2 separate regions of the Homo sapiens genome follow, and region 2 is linked to region 1. Evidence: promoter capture Hi-C in 16 types of primary human blood cells and fetal thymus (Javierre and others, 2016). All regions are on one chromosome and are shown on one strand. Each heading gives the region's core, a stretch centred on a gene start or on the middle of the fragment in contact. The rest is flanking DNA. Distances are from core to core; before and after follow the strand shown. Region 1 holds the start of DGUOK-AS1 (DGUOK antisense RNA 1). Region 2 holds the start of C2orf81 (chromosome 2 open reading frame 81).

Region 1 (7,676 bases), core at 2,128-4,627:
CACTGTCAAGTACCTACAAATGGGACTCAATCCTCACCCACAAAAGGCCATGAGGAAGGGAAGCCTCGAAGGTGAAAGGGGTTGATATCATCTTCAAGTCTCAAATGGGACAAGCAGGCTCCTACTTAGCAGGAGATGGGACAGAAACAACACATGGAAACAAGATCAGGGGACAAGCCAATTGAAGTTGAACCAATCTTTCAGGGATGCTCTGCTCTTTCTATAAAGCACTGTTCTGAATGGATTCCTATGATGTGTAGTTCAGGAATTTCACCACTTTTATACTATATGTATTTTCTGTGTTTCCCGCTCCCCCAACACACATACTTTTTTTTTTTTTTTTTTTTTTGAGACAGGGTCTCACTCCATTGCCCAGGCTGGAGTGCAATGGCACAATTTTGGCTCACTGAAGCCTCAACCTCCCGGGCTCAAGTGATCCTCTCACCTCAAAGTGTGCACCACTGCACCTGGCTAATTTTTTTGTAAAGTTGAGGTCTCACTATATTGCCCAAGCTGGTTTTGAACTCCTGAGCTCAAGTGATTCGACTGCCTTGGCCTCTCAAAGTGCTGGGATTACAGGCGTGAGCCACCAGGCCCGGCTTGATATTTTTTTAAACAAGAAAATACTAACCTTGATTCGATGTTAGAGTTTAACCAAGAGGCAGCTCATAGGACCTGGTTTCCACCGCCCCCCTCCCCCCCCCCGGAATCTCAGGCTGTGACAGGGGCTGCTCCTGGGTCTCTCTGTGGGCGCTGTCAAAATGGACCTCAAATGGGATGTGTTCTTGCTGACCTCATTGATCAACTTCCACCTTCTCTGGGCCCCCTGGCACTACCAACTACCCTGTTGTTCTTCCAGAAACCTCCCTTCCTATGCCCTCGTCCTGTGGGTTTGACTTCGTAAATCTTTCTTGATACCTCTCTCCCTCCCCACCACCACTACCCTAATGGAGACCATCATTTTTGTTTTCTCACTTAGGTTTCTGCAACAGCCTTCTAGCTGCTCTCTCTGCCTCTATTCTGACACCCTCCTCTAATGTATTCTCTATATAGCAGCTGGCACTGAGTAAGATGTGGTCCTGTCCACAGCTGAGGGGATGGGACAGACCCAGGCATACCTGTGATCTGATTGGTGGGCCCCTTACCCAATCTTGAGAGATCATCAAAGGCTTCCTGAAGCGTCACCTGAGTTTAACCAGGAAGGATGAGTGGGAGTTAATGGCAAGGCGGCAGGAAACGCCTCTGCTAAAGCTACGCTGTTTTAGAAGTTTCCTTTAGTAGGCAGGCTCCTTGTGTCATACACCCTGAGTACCTTCCTTTCCTGGATTTCTTTCTCTATTTACAAACGAATTTCTACTGAGTTTGTCCCACAGCCACTCACCTCTTCTACTATGTTTCCTTCAACTCTTATTTTTTTTCGCTTTAGTTTAAATCTCTGAACCTGCTCTAGTGCAAGGTAAGACAGTCCTTTACACTAGGAATCTCTAATATGTGTCGCCAGGAGGGAGGAATGCTCTGGAAATGGGCAGTATGTGTAATTGCACATACCTCAAATATACACATATACATTCACACACTCACACACACTCCCTGTGTGTTAGTGCTGTTAACCAAATACTTCTGCTTATCCTTCCTGCACATAGCAGGATTGTACTTATTGCACTTCCCTGCCCCCTTGTAACTTTCTTTGGCCAGTGAGATGACAGCAGGAGTGATGTGTGTCACTTCCAGGGAAAAGCTTTAAGAGCCAGTGCTAGATTTGCCCCATTCTTGTTTCCTGCCTTCAGGGTTGAGGAGATGCATGTCCAGTTGCAGCAGCCTGGATGCCCGAGTGATTACGGGAAACAGAGCTCCTAATGACTCATAATGGACACGTTTTGTGATTGAGAAATACACTTTTGTTATGTAAAGCCACTGTGATTTGGGGATTGTCTATTACTCCAGCACAATCTAACTGATCCTGACTGATACACCCTGTCAACCAAGGCTCAGGGGCACCAAGGCCTTTATCCCTGTTGGGTATTCCTTCCATTATGATGGGTACCCTTGCATTCTCCTTGCAAGTAATGAAGCCTATTTGATTCAAAAAATTCAAAATGCAGTCACAAAACTAGTTATAAAACATGAGGACATTTGCGGGGCTATTGAAAAACGTAGTAGCCGGGCGCGGTGGCTCACTCATGTAATCCCAGCAGTTTGGGAGGTCGAGGTGGGTGGATCATGAGGTCAGGAGTTCAAGACCAGTCTCTACTAAAACTACAAAAATTAGCTGGGCGCGGTGGCAGGTGCCTGTAATCCCAGCTACTCGAGAGTCTGAGGCAGGAGAATCATTTGAACCTGGGCAGCAGAGGTTACAGTGAGCCCAGATCGCGCCACTGCACTTCAGCCTGGGTGACAAGAGTGAGACTCCATCTCAAAGAAAAAAAAAAAACCAAAACCCAAAACCAAAACAAAACAAAAAACCCAAAAACGCATAGCATAGATATCCTACACGTGTCACACTCACCAATGCAGGTCCACAAGCAACCCACTAATGAACCTCCCTTTCCCTGAGAGCAAAATGCCAGCTTCTGCCTGGTATCAGCTCTAGCATTCGTGGGCTAATTTCAGAGGTCCTGGATTGTAGGTCCTGGATTCTGACATGTAGTAGTGAATGACCTTGGACAAATTACCTCACTGAGCGCCAGTTCTCTTATCTGTAAAATGGTGATGATAATAAAAACTATGTCATAGATAAGGAAAGTTAACATTTGCACATTTGTTGTATTTGCCACTCTGTGCAGACAGAAGGATAATGTGTGTGGAAGTGCTTTGAAAAGGGAAAGATCTATGCAAATATTAGTTGATAATATTTTTAGCCAATACATGACCAAAGAAGTAATACATCCAAAATCAAATAAACCTCCCAATACCTTCAGTCTTTAAAACCAAGCCCAGGTATGGATATCGGGATGTATTTACATTTCTGCAAAAGGTCCCCATACGCAAATCTCATTCTTAAATAAGGACAAATTACTCATTAGCTGAAGAGGAGAGAGGTCAAGTACCTGAGGAGGTTAGTCACATCAATCACCTGAGAGTTCAGCAGCATCCAACAGTGTTAGTTCCACGTGTTAACTTCCTGAAGAACCACAGGCTTGCACATCCAATTATGCTTCCTGTCCCTTTCCTCCCCCGTGCGGAATCAACTTCAGCTCATCAATGGGGTAGGAAAGCCTCCTTATTTCGCACCCTCCATGCTCCAGGCATCCAGGGAAATGCCCCTGCCACCCCTATCTCCCTTGAGTTCTTAGGGCTTCCTCCTCTAGCAAGGAGATTTCCCTTTCTAGTCCCGGGGGCAGCGGCACAGCCCGGCTCTGACCTCGCGGGAGCAGTCGCCTAAAAGAGGCTCCGCCCTTGGCCGCTTGGGGTGGCGCCCGCCAAACCCGCTCCTAAAAGGAGCCTCTCTCCCTCTGTCTGCTCTAAGCGCCTTGGGGGCCTAATCGCAGTCTCCACCTGGGTGCTGAACTTCCTTCTCCCCCGCTTGCTGTAGTCCAGTGCTGCTCTAACTTGACTTCACCTGACGGACTAATTAAAACAGATTGCTGGGCCCGCCCCCAGGGTTTCTGATTCAGTGGGGTTAGGATGGGGCCGAGAGCTTGCATTTCTAGCCAGTTCCCAGGAGATGGTGATGCTGCTGGTGCCGGGGCTCTCTTGGCGGAACCACTGCGTCTAGGCTAATGCAGCCCCAGGAAGGGCTCGCCCTATCCCTACGCCCACCCCCGCTGCTCTCCTGCCCTGAGCGCAATGTGAATGGGAATAGCCGCAGCAGCCCAGGAGGCTGGAGAACCAGAAGGCAGGACCTGAGGAGTTTAGGCTGTTTTATCTTGGGCGCCCCTGACCAGTTTGTGCAAGTCGTAAAGAAAGCAGGAAAGAAGCCTATGGGTCTTCAGTGTTACTGGGGTCTGTCATTCATTAGGGTCTACTCACCTCGTCTCTTCATTCAACACAGTGGTTGGTTGCTAGGTCTAGGGTTATGAGGTGAAAGACAGCGTGCTACCCTTCCAGGAGTTTGTAGTAACTGGGAAAGAAACATGCAAACCATTCCAGTGCCCAGCGCCGATGAGATAACTGTTCCTAGGCAGGGAGAGTCAAACTTCTGTGGAGGGAGAGTGGGTGGGGCTCTGGAATCATCTGAGCAGCTGGAGGTTTCATGGAACTGGCACTTATGACTTGCAGGATGAGTGGGAATTTGGCAGGTACAAGGGGTAGCTGAGAAGGGGTGGGGTGGGAAGGGTTTTTCCCCAGGCAGAAGGAATGAGCAACAGGACTGCCGAAGTGTAAGGTTCCAGAGGCCGGGAAGATATGACAGGCAGCTCTCTAGCCTGGCTGGGTTCCCTCCAACCTCTCTGGCGGCGCCTTCTCAGCTCCTGTCCCTCATGGGCTGGTATTCCCTGGGGCTCTGTCCTGGCAGCCTTTCCCTCTCACACTCCATATCCACCCTGGATGAGCTCCTCCACAACTGAGGCCTCGCTGTCTGCTCACTGATGGGGCCCAAATCTCAAACCCAGGCCTCACCCCCTCAGTTGCACACTCACTTTCACACGAATGTCTCCATCCCCAGGCATCCTTCCTTCTGCATTTTGTCACAGTGAATGGCACCAGCATTCACCCAGTTACCTAAACGAGAGGGCTTTATGAAATGACCCTCTCATAGATTGCTGGCAAAGAGTAAATGACACAGTAACTTGCTGGTGCCATTTACCCAGACAGAATACAAGAGGATGGCTGCTGGGCTCCTCTGAAAGTCCACAACTTACTAGCTGAGTGATCCTGGGCAAGTTATTTAATCTGTTTTCTTATCCATAAAATGGGTTTGATGATAGTACCTACCTCACAAGGTTGTCATATGGATTAAACAATATTAGTTGTTGTCATTCATTGAGCCCTATATTAAGTCTTTTACTTGGATTCCCTTGAAGATGGAGTACCTAGTCCAAGGTCACACTGTTACCAAGTGGCAGATTCAGGTTTGGAAGCCAGAGTTCTCTGGCTCCTGAGCCATCTTCTTCACCTCACTGTCACACTTTCTGAAAACTGTATACCAAACAGGGAAATGCCTATGGTACAATGTTAAGTTAAAAGAGGATGGCAAATTGTATAATCAGTGTGAGTAAATCCACAAATAGGAAAGGCTACAAGGAAATATAGCAAATGGTTAAATATGGTTGTAATTTGGTGATTTTTCCCCTCTAGTATCTGTAGTCTCCACGTCTTCTTTATACACATTTTTTATTAATAAAGTTGCTTATTAAAAATATATTACATTAAAAACAATTACGAGTCTGCAACCTGTTCCCCTGTTTGAAAATTGCACTCTCTTGGTTTTTCGTCTCGGTTCTAGTCTTACTACCCTGAACAGAAACTCTTCAGTCCTCCCAAAGGCCATGGTAGGAAGTGGATATTGCAGCCATGTTCACCCCCACCCACTCCCTCGCTGACAACCTGGACCCTGGAGCAGGCTGTCAAAATCAGAGGGAAGTTCCAGATAGAACCCGGGCTGCTTTACCGCCTAGGGCTTTCTGGACAGCGCTACTTCAGATCAGTTACTTTTTTTTCTTTCTTTCTAAATAGCCGGCCGAATGCTCTTTTTCCAGTTCTGGCTAAGCTGTTAGCTGCAGCCGGGCGGCGACGCCTGCCAGGTACCTGGCTCCGTGAGCACCGCCCAAACTGGTCAGGCCAGTCCGTCCTGTGGCTGTTTCTGCCAGGACTCGCCCGAGTGTGTGTGTGCGCGTGTATGTCAGAGACCCACCCTGCTCCCCTGCAACCGAGGTAGGTGGAAGGCAGTTGCAGGCACCAGCCTGGCAGTCAGGCCAGATGGGTGGGGCTGAATTAATCTAACCTGGAATTTCAACTTGGCCTGCACAACAGGTGAGGGAAAAAAGCAGCAGAGAGAACGGGCAGTTTGGCAACTTGGAAATATTCCTGAGCCCTGCCCCTTACCCCCTGCCTGGAACGTAGCCCAGGGTGACTCTTCAAAGTGTCTGCGCCGGGTTTTAGGGCTTAGTCGCCCCACGGCCCCCTCGAGGCTGTCCGAGGCCCTCCTGAACGCTGTCCTCCTCAGTTACCCTCCGCGACGCGCCCGTTCCCCCTCCTCTGGGAGGCAGGGCGGGGGTATCGGATTAGTCTTTGTTTTCGACGCGAAAGAATCGAGCGCGGCGCGGGGGAGGCTGGTGATGGCAGGGCCGTGGGGTCCACCTGGACAGGGCATTCGGCCGTGACCCCTGCGAGGGTGCCCTTAGCCTCTGCCCCCGAGCAACCCCTTCTTGCCGGCCAGGCTGACTCGGTACGCAAACGCGCGATGTCCCCCATTGTCCTGCCTCGGAATGAGCCAGCGGCAGCTGGGACAGGGGGGTCAGTCGGGCCCGGCGCTCAGGCCTCCCGGGGGCGCCGGGGCTGTCCCGGACAGATCTGGCCCGCAGGGAGTGGCAGGAAGTGGGGACACCGAGCGAGGCTCGGCCGAGGGCCTAGGCTGGAAGGTCCGCGTGCCCCACCCCGCCTCGCCGGCCCCGGCTGCAGCCCCGCCGGAGGGCGAGGGTGGCCAACCCGAAGGGGGCGGCCGCCTCCCGGGAGGGCCGACCGCGTGGGTGGGAGCCACTGCAGGTGCAGAGAAGCGGCGGCCGGGCCGGAGCCTGCCCCAAGCCGCTCGCAGGCCGCCCACCCGACCCCTCCCCTCCGCGGGAACCACCCCCCTCTCGCCCGGCCCGGGGCCCGGCCGGGCCGGCGGGGCTCGGCGGGGCCGCACGTGTGCGCCCTCCCGGGCGGGGGAGTCCCCGGGCGAGCACGTGCCGCGGTGCGCGGGGGGCGGGGAGTCCCGCGGACGCCTTCATTGCTGCTGCTGCTGCCGCCGCGGCCGCCGCTGCCTCTTCCTTCCTCCTGCGCCGTCCCCTCCTCGGCCCGGGCGGGGGGCTCCGCGCGCTGAGCTCGGTCGGGCCGGGCGCTCCGGGAGGCGGGAGCCCCAGGCGGCGGCGGCGGCGGCCGCGACGGTGGTGGCGGCGGCGGCGCGGGCCGGGAAACTTTGCCCCTTTGTGCGCTCCGCCCCGGAGGCGGCGGGCAGGTCGGTGCAGTCGGTGCCTTTCCGGCTCCGGAGTGGGGGAGGGGCGGCGGGAGGCGCGGGGGGCCCGGCCCGGGGGAGGGGGAGGGGACGGCCCGGATCCGGCGGGGGGCCGCTCCTCCGGTGCGGGGGGCCGGACTGGGGTGCTGCGGGGCGCTGTGCGGCTGAGCCGGGCGGGGGTGGCGGGGCGGGGGCGGGGGCTGCGAAGCCGCCGGAGCGGAGTGGCGGAGGCCCCAGAACAAAGGAGCCCGAGCGGCGGCGCGCGCGCGGCCCGGCCCGCGGCTCGAGCGCGCCCCCCTCCCCGCGCCCCTCGGCGGCGCGGGCCGCCCTCCCCAGTCGGGCTGGCGGGCTGCGCTCCGGCGGCGGGCGCGGCGGGCGCGGGCTGCCCAGGGCGCGCCCCCACCTCCAGGCGGCTTCCGTGCCGGGGGCGCCGGGGCAGTCCCGCCGAGCGAGGCTCTCAGCAAACTTTATTTTGAAAGCTCAGCTCCCTAGGGAGGGCCCGGCGGCCTCCAGCCAGGGCGTGTGGGGGAATTTTGGTGAAACTCTCACCAGCCCGTGGGGGTGGGGAAGAGGGCAACTTTCT
Region 2 (7,676 bases), core at 3,754-6,253, 440 kb after region 1:
ACCGAAGTCTGACAGAAGTTAACCAGCCTTGCTTAGGAGCACACAGTGAGCAAGCCCAGACAATGTGAAGGTTTAACTTCATGGCCCTTATACCAGAGCAAAGTGTTCAAAATTCTTGAGTGTTCAAATTACTTGAGAAAGACAATTCAGTAAACAGTCCTGGAATTATTGGTGCTATTTAGAGTCTTCTCTACATTTTGTTTTCCAGAAAAGGATTTTTTTTTTTTAATTCAAGTAATTGCAAATAGGAAACCAGAGGGGGAGCCCCAGGCTGGGACAAATCATGGCTACCCCTCCCTGACAGACCCGGGGGAGCAGGTGGCCCCTACATGCTTTATGGTGGATTTGGGCCCCCTTGCTCTCTCTGCTGCAGCATCCTAGGGGAGTAGTCAGTCACCCAGCCTGCCATGCCCCAGCCCCTCTTCTCCACGAAGAGTAACCTGGGGGAGGGGATCATGGGCAGAACAGGAGGCAATGTGGATGAACATTTGGCGCTGCTAGCAGCAGCAATGACAGATGTCAAAGAATGGAACATTGAACCAAAAACAAAACAACTGTCCAGAGGTAGTTTGTGAACAAAGGAAAAATGGAACCAGAACCTGGGGGGGTGGCAGGAGCAGGAGGGCTGGGAGTGGGAAGGGTGAGCTCCTTGTTATTGGTGCCCCATCTGAGGAGAGGAAAATGGCCAAGTGGTAGAAGCAAAGTAGGGTTGGGGGAGCAGCCCCAGCCCACCTCAGGTAGCTGCCACAGGGCTCATGGGCCTCACCTGGACAATAGGTGACTGCATCTCCATCACTGCAATATGTACTCAGATCCCAGGCAGACGGTAAGGGGGCTGGGGCCACTGCAAAGAGGGAGTAGGGGACTCACACCCCTCCCGCTTTCCTGTAGCCAATGGGGGCTGTCCAACCTAGTGCAGGGACTAGGGAAGGTGGGGAAGGATGAAAGGTGTGAGCCTCACGTGGTGACAAAGACAGTTTGGCTGGGGGAATCCTGGGGGCCAGCACCCCCCTCCATTGGCCACACCTGCTGCTGCCAGGACAGTGGAGTGGGGTGTGCCAGAATGGGGGCTTGGGCCCCTTTTAAGACCAGGGGAACCCTCCCAGGCCCCTCTATGGGAAGCCAGAGGCAACAGTGGAGGAGCAGAGAAGTGGCTCCCAAACCAAAAGCCCAGAGAGCAATGTCACCACCAAGGGATCAGGGACGCAGCAGGTGCAGGGTGCGGCTAAGCAGGACATTAGCCTTGTCCAGGAGGGCACATGTGTATGAGTGGGTGGACGGGGGGAGGAGGGGGTAGGGATGGGAAGAGGCCAGGGGAAAAGTCCTCTCCACTCAGCCCATAGGGACCTGCAGCGGCTGGTGTGTTGTGTAGTGTGGTGGTGAAGGTGCAGGTGGAAGATGAGGGTGGTGGCTGGAGGCGGTGGTGATGGTGGGTGTAGGGAAGGGGTGGGGGGTGGGAGGTGGGGGGTTGGGAGCAGATCAAAGCTGTCCAGTCCCAGAAGGAAGCTGCTCCTCCAGTGAGGACTCCTGCGAGATGCCCTTCTCTTCCTCCTTCTCCAGTTTTTTGGGTCTTCCCCTTGGTTTCCTTCCCAGAGTTGTGGTGGTTTTCCCGGTCTTGGCAGCACCCTTGTTTTTGCTTCCCTTTGGTCGGCCCCGAGGTCTCTTAGGTGTTGGCACTTCGCTGAGCTCCTTCTGACTCCCTACCAGCGCTGTCCTGGGACTCACCGGAGGCTGCTTGCGCGGCCTGCCACGGCCCCGCTTCTCAGTGCCGTCCTTTTTCTGCTTGGAGGCCAAGGGCTGGCTGGACTTCGAGCTCGACTCGCTCATCTTCCCTTCTCTAAGGACTAGTTGGAAAAGTGATGGCTGGGATGGGCGAACTCGGCCGCTGGCCTGCGGTGCATGCTCCGGTTTGCCGGGAGCAGCGGTGCTGGGCGCTGAGGACAGGCCAGTCTCCACCGCAGCCGCCCCTGGTCGCAAATGCGGATGCCTTCCTGGAGCCGCGCCAGCGCCAGAAATAGCCCAGGCTCGGAGTCCCACTTAGAAGAGCACAGCCCCGGCTCAGGGGAGCTTAAAAAGTTCTCTACATTTTTTTTTTTTAACCAACTATTCTTATCTCCATTTTATGGTAATTTACCCAGTATCATACAAGTAGGATGTAGTGAAGTCAGAATGCATTCACATGCAAGTCTGTCTGACTCCAGAGCCTCTCAAAGACATTTGCAACAAATATGAAAAAAGATAAATATCCCCGAGTAAATTAAAAGCTCATATAAAAAAAAAAATGGCCGGGCGCAGTGGCTCACGCCTGTAATCCCAGCACTTTGGGAGGCCGAGGTGGGTGGATCATTTGAGGTCAGGAGTTCGAGACCAGCCTAGCCAACATGGTGAAACCCCGTCTCTACTAATAATACAAAAATTAGCCAGGCATGGTGGTGGGCGCCTGTAATTCCAGCTACTAGGGAGGCTGAGGCACGAGAATCACTTGAACCCGGGAGGCAGAGTTTGCAGTGAGCTGAGATCATGCTACTGAACTCCAGCCTGGGTGACAGAGCGAGACTCTGTCTCAAAAAAGAAAAAAAAAACTAATAAAATAAAAAATAGAAGAAGAAAAATGGCCAGGCACAGTGGCGCACACCCACAGTACCAGCTGCTCGGGAGGCTGAGGCAGGGGGATTGCTTGAGCCCAGGAGTTCAAGTCCAGCTTGGGCTATATTGCAATAAAAATTTAAACTATAAGAAGAAAAACCATTTAAGATCCCAAAGATAAGCAAAGGACATGACATTTCACAAGAGAGGGACTGTAGATGACTAATAAATATAGTATTGACATTCTGATTTCTAGTTCATCAAATTGGAATTATTTTAAAAACAAGAATACTCAGCATTGGCAAAGGTTTAGTGTGATACCATGCTGCAACAGTATGCATGAAGACATTAAAAAATGTTTTCACTTCCTCAACCCTGCAATTTCAGTTCTATAAATACAACCAAAAGGCATTTTCTGAAATGAAGATAAAAATATATTCTCCAACAAATTCTCTGCGGTATTTTTATAATAGCAGAATATTGAAAACATGTCTTTAAAAAGAGAATAAATAATTGACATGCTATATATACTGAAATATTATGCAATGATTAAAGGTAATCTTTTTTTGTTTGTTTGTTTTTGTTTTTGAGACGGAATCTCGCTCTGTCACCCAGGCTGGAGTGCAGTGGCAAGATCTCGGCTCACTGCAACCTCTGCCTCCCAGGTTCAAGCAATTCTCCTGCCTCAGCCTCCGGAGTAGCTGGGATTACAGGCGCCTGCCACCAGGCCTGGCTAATTTTTTTTCTATTTTTAGTAGAGATGGGGTTTCGCCATGTTGGCCAGACTGGTCTTGAACTGGCCTCAAGTGATCTGCCCACCTTGCAGGCATGAGCCACCAACCCAGCCATTAAAGGTAATCTTTAGAAAGAATTTGCAATGGCATAAAGCAAATGTTTATGATGTAACGTTAATTGAAAGAAGCAGGATACAAACTTACACATCAATTATGATCTCATATATGTAAACCACTATGTGTTCAACAAAAGGAAAACTTCAAAATGATAACAGAGGATACGTTTCCTTCCTATGCTCTTTTCTATTTTGTAAGTTCTCTACAATGAGTTTGTTTCCTTTTGTAATCACTTAAAAAAAAAAAAAGACTAGTCCCCAAAACTCACTTTAGAGACATAAAAAGTTTACAAACAATCTCTTGGGAGCTCCCTCAATTCCCCACAACAGTCTCCCTGAACCTGGTTCCTTCCAAAATGTACTTCCAAATGTGATCTTCCCAAACCTTTGCCTATTGCCCCGCTAAAACCTTGTCTCATATCTGTTTCCTAAAATTCATTATCCCCCCAAATCTGCTGTTTCCTAAGTCTTGCAGAACTCAAAATCCCTGAAGTCTCATTAACCCTATCCACCAGTGAGAACAGCCCTGTAGCAAGCACCAGGAGTGGCCCATAGCCCAGGCCAAGCTTGACTAGAGCAGGGCTGACTGGACTGAGTAAAGAGAGTTGTTTCCTTAGACCTCCCCTCCCAGCCTCGCATCTGACACCCGTGATGGTGACCAGAAGGGACAGAGATATTTTTGCACAAAGGCTCTTCAAATCCGTTTTCTTTCTTCTTCTTCTTTTTTTTTTTTTTTTTTTTTTTTTTTTGAGACAGTCTCTCTCTGTCACCCAGGCTAGAGCGCAGTGGCGCGATCTCGGCTCACTGCAACCTCCGCCTCCCGAGTTCAAGCAATTCTCCTGCCTCTGCCTCCCGAGTAGCTGGGATTACAGGCACCGCGCCACCACATCCAGCTAATTTTTTGTATTTTAGTCGAGACGGGGTCTCGCCATGTTGGCCTGGCTGGTCTTGAACTCCTGAGCTCAGGCAATCCTCCCGCCTCAGCCTCTCAAAGTGCTGGGATTACAGGCATGAGCCATTGAGACCGGCCCCGTTTTCTTTATTTTAAAATTGATTGGCTCTTAAACAATTTGACTTTCAAGTGCAGTCTCTGAATTATTTAATATATTTCTTCCTCTTGAAATTCTCGAAATAGATTTTTTCTGTTATCTTCCCTCTCTAAATGCTCATCCATTTAAATACGCACCACCATGTAAGAGACTTACTACATTCATTAGCTGTTTCAAAATCCACTTCCTGTTCTCGGGCTCTACACCACCCACTGACCCTTTCCCTCATGGCTTGAGTGTAACAAAGCGTTTGAGTGGGCACCGTGCAGGTGTAGGTTTTCTGCCCGAGTACCGACGTGGCTTCCTTGGTCATCTAAACTCCCGCGCGGTGGGCGGGAGCAAGTAGGGGCACTGGGCGGCCCAGAGCCAGCCCACTGTTCCCGACACCGACCTTAACGGCCGACCCTGGCTCTGGCGCATCCCCAGCTGAACTGAAGCTCACCGAGCCTTCGTGCGCCATCGCCAACGCGGTCGCAGCAACGCTGGTGTTTCTGCTGCATCCGGGCCGCGTAAGCCACCTAACAGTCGCCTGGGCAACCACGGGCTCGGGGTCGCTCGCCCCGCCCACAGTTGCCCCGGCAACCGCGCCGCCCGCGGCACGTTCCGGCCGCTCACCCCGCCCAAGGGCCGTGCGTACGTGCGTCGTCTCTATGGTGGCGGCGGATTTGGAGGGACCCTACGAACCAGGAGTCAGGCGAGCCGATCTGGGGCTGCAGGTGTTACCTCTGATCTAGGCCGGGGGCTTCAGGGATCCGAGCCGAGGGAGAAAGCCTTGGGGGCTTCATCACACTTATTTGGCTCGCGGGCTTGGGGCCATCGGGTGGTCCTGTGTCATCCCCATTCCTCCTCTGCGATTCCCCCGTCGCCCCAAAACAGCCCTGGGACTCCCCTGTCTTGCTCCTCGAGACCCTCCCCCATCACCGTCCTCTGGGCACCCCATCCTATGACCCAGTCTCAGGCATCTTCCGAAATGCTCGATGATAGCCGCCCTCGGGCATCTCCGCTGCGTCTGTTTGTAGCGCGCCTGGTGATTCGGCTGCACCCCCACACAGGATGTTCCGCTGGGAGCGCTCCATTCCCCTGCGAGGCTCGGCCGCCGCCCTGTGCAACAACCTCAGTGTGCTGCAGCTGCCGGCTCGCAACCTCACGTATTTTGGCGTGGTTCATGGACCAAGCGCCCAGCTTCTCAGCGCTGCTCCTGAGGGTGTGCCCTTGGCCCAGCGCCAGCTCCACGCTAAGGAGGGTGCTGGAGTGAGTCCCCCACTTATCACTCAGGTGAGGCATGGAGCTGGGAGTGATGTTGCTGAACCCAGTCCTACCCCCAGCCTTTTCTCTCCAAACCTTCAGGAGCAGGCATGTCCTAACCTCAGAATCTCCCCAGGCATGTCCTAACCTCAGAATCTCCCCTCTCCTGCCGGGCGCGGTGGCTCACGCCTGTAATCCCAACACTTTGGGAGGCTGAGACGGGCACTTGAGGCCAGGAGTTCGAGACCAGCCTGGCCAACATGGTGAAACCTCTTCTCTACTAAGAATACAAAAAAAATTAACCGGGTGTGGTGGCGTGCACCTGTAATCCCAGCTACTTGGGTGGCTGAGGCAGGAGAATCGCTTGAACCCAGGAGGCTGAGGTTGCAGTGAGCCGAGATGGCGCCACTGCACTCCAGCCTGGGCCACAGAGCAAGACTCCGTCCCCCAAAAAAAAAAAAAAAACAAACAAACTCATCTTCCCTGCTTTGATTTTCTCCCTACACTGATGCACCTCCCTCCAGGTCCACTGGTGTGTCCTCCCCTTCCGAGTGCTGCTGGTACTCACCTCACATCGAGGAATACAGGTAAGAAGAGGACTCTCCTGCTTGCCCCACCAGAGCCTTCTCAGCTTCCCTGCCAGGCTTCCAGACTTTCCCACTTGCCTCTAAACACTTCCAGACTTTTCACATGCTTGGCCCACTCACTCTTTTTCTATTTCTTATCTTCAATCTTTCCATCTTTTCCAGTTTCCAAGTGCCACCTCCAGTATCTGCCCCTTTACTAGCTGTATGTCCTTACACTATTAACTTCTCACTCTCACTGTTGTCCTCTGAAAAAATTAGGATAAAAATAGTACCTACATCCCAGATTTGTTTTGAGGATTAAATGGGCTAAGGCTAACACGGATATGTGAAGTACTCAGCAGAGGTCAGTTGGGTTATGCCCCCTGGTTCTTGCCCCGGTCTTCCAGATGTACGAGTCCAATGGCTACACCATGGTCTACTGGCATGCACTGGACTCTGGAGATGCCTCCCCAGGTACCTGCAGGACCAAGTGGGGTGGGGGCAGGGAGTGTTTGCTAGGGCTGCAGGAGGGGATATTTCTGATCATTCTCCCCTTTCATATTCAGTACAGGCTGTGTTTGCCCGGGGAATTGCTGCCAGTGGCCACTTCATCTGTGTGGGTGAGGGAGCCAAGTGCAGGGCATGGAGGGGTGCTGGGGCATGTGGGCTGTGGCCAGGAGAATAATGAGGGCCTGAGGAAATTGTGGAAAGTTAGAGGGAAGGGTGGAAGTGGAGTGGAATCAGAGACTCCAGTAAACCATGGAAGGGTTCAGAGGGTCAGGGTGGGATAAGACAAGGCTAGTGAATGAAGGGGCATGGCCGTTGGAGCAGTGAGAGGGGGTTTTGTTACTAAGGTTTCTGGGATGGAGTAAGTGTTGAGTATGGTGGCTGGAGACCCAGGAGGGTCAGGAAGTCATCACTGGAGTACTGGTTCTGGATACAGGAACGTGGTCAGGCCGGGTGCTGGTGTTTGACATCCCAGCAAAGGGTCCCAACATTGTACTGAGCGAGGAGCTGGCTGGGCACCAGATGCCAATCACAGACATTGCCACCGAGCCTGCCCAGGGACAGGTGAGTGGACTTCCCCTACCCATCTGGGAGCCTTCCCCACCCTGGGAGGCAGGGGACCTGGCTTTGAGTCTTGGCTCTGCCACTAAACAGGTGGATGGCTTTGGGCAAATCTACATTTTCCTAGTCTTCAGCAACCAGGTTCAGTGATAAAGCCAGAGATACTTTACATTTATGTAGTATTTTATAGTTAATTAAGACTTTATAATACTGATGTGAAATGAGGAGTTGGAACAAATGGTTTCTAAGATACTTTCCAGCTCTGAAATGTGCAGCTTCCTTCTCTAGGGCAAGTCCCACCTATTCAGGCCC

What was found. Contacts are between HindIII fragments. The CHiCAGO score rates a contact against its expected background, and 5 or more counts as called.
Region 2: a contact is called between the fragment with the promoter of C2orf81 here and the fragment with the promoter of DGUOK-AS1 in region 1, in 3 of 17 cell types (fetal thymus, naive CD4 T cells and naive B cells). The highest score is 6.1, in fetal thymus.

What each region holds. Positions count from the first base shown.
Region 1 is chr2:73,978,062-73,985,737 of GRCh38, forward strand. It overlaps DGUOK-AS1 (DGUOK antisense RNA 1), which reads right to left and starts at 3,378. Exons shown (of 2, transcript NR_104030.1): 1 at 3,074-3,378. TET3 (tet methylcytosine dioxygenase 3) reads left to right here and starts at 6,849. Exons shown (of 12, transcript NM_001287491.2): 1 at 6,849-7,096. RefSeq lists an enhancer at 5,225-6,148 and silencers at 6,322-7,011, 6,770-6,968, 7,392-7,561. The HindIII fragment of the contact is 8,489 bases long and covers 1,737-7,676 here.
Region 2 is chr2:74,416,616-74,424,291 of GRCh38, forward strand. It overlaps C2orf81 (chromosome 2 open reading frame 81), which reads right to left and starts at 5,004. Exons shown (of 3, transcript NM_001316764.3): 1 at 4,928-5,004. The coding sequence starts at 4,945. It overlaps WDR54 (WD repeat domain 54), which reads left to right and starts at 5,115. Exons shown (of 10, transcript NM_032118.4): 1 at 5,115-5,201; 2 at 5,538-5,760; 3 at 6,255-6,317; 4 at 6,704-6,770; 5 at 6,863-6,916; 6 at 7,240-7,367. The coding sequence starts at 5,539. It also overlaps the pseudogene HMGA1P8. RefSeq lists a silencer at 4,935-5,214 and an enhancer at 5,615-5,794. The HindIII fragment of the contact is 12,224 bases long and covers 4,001-7,676 here.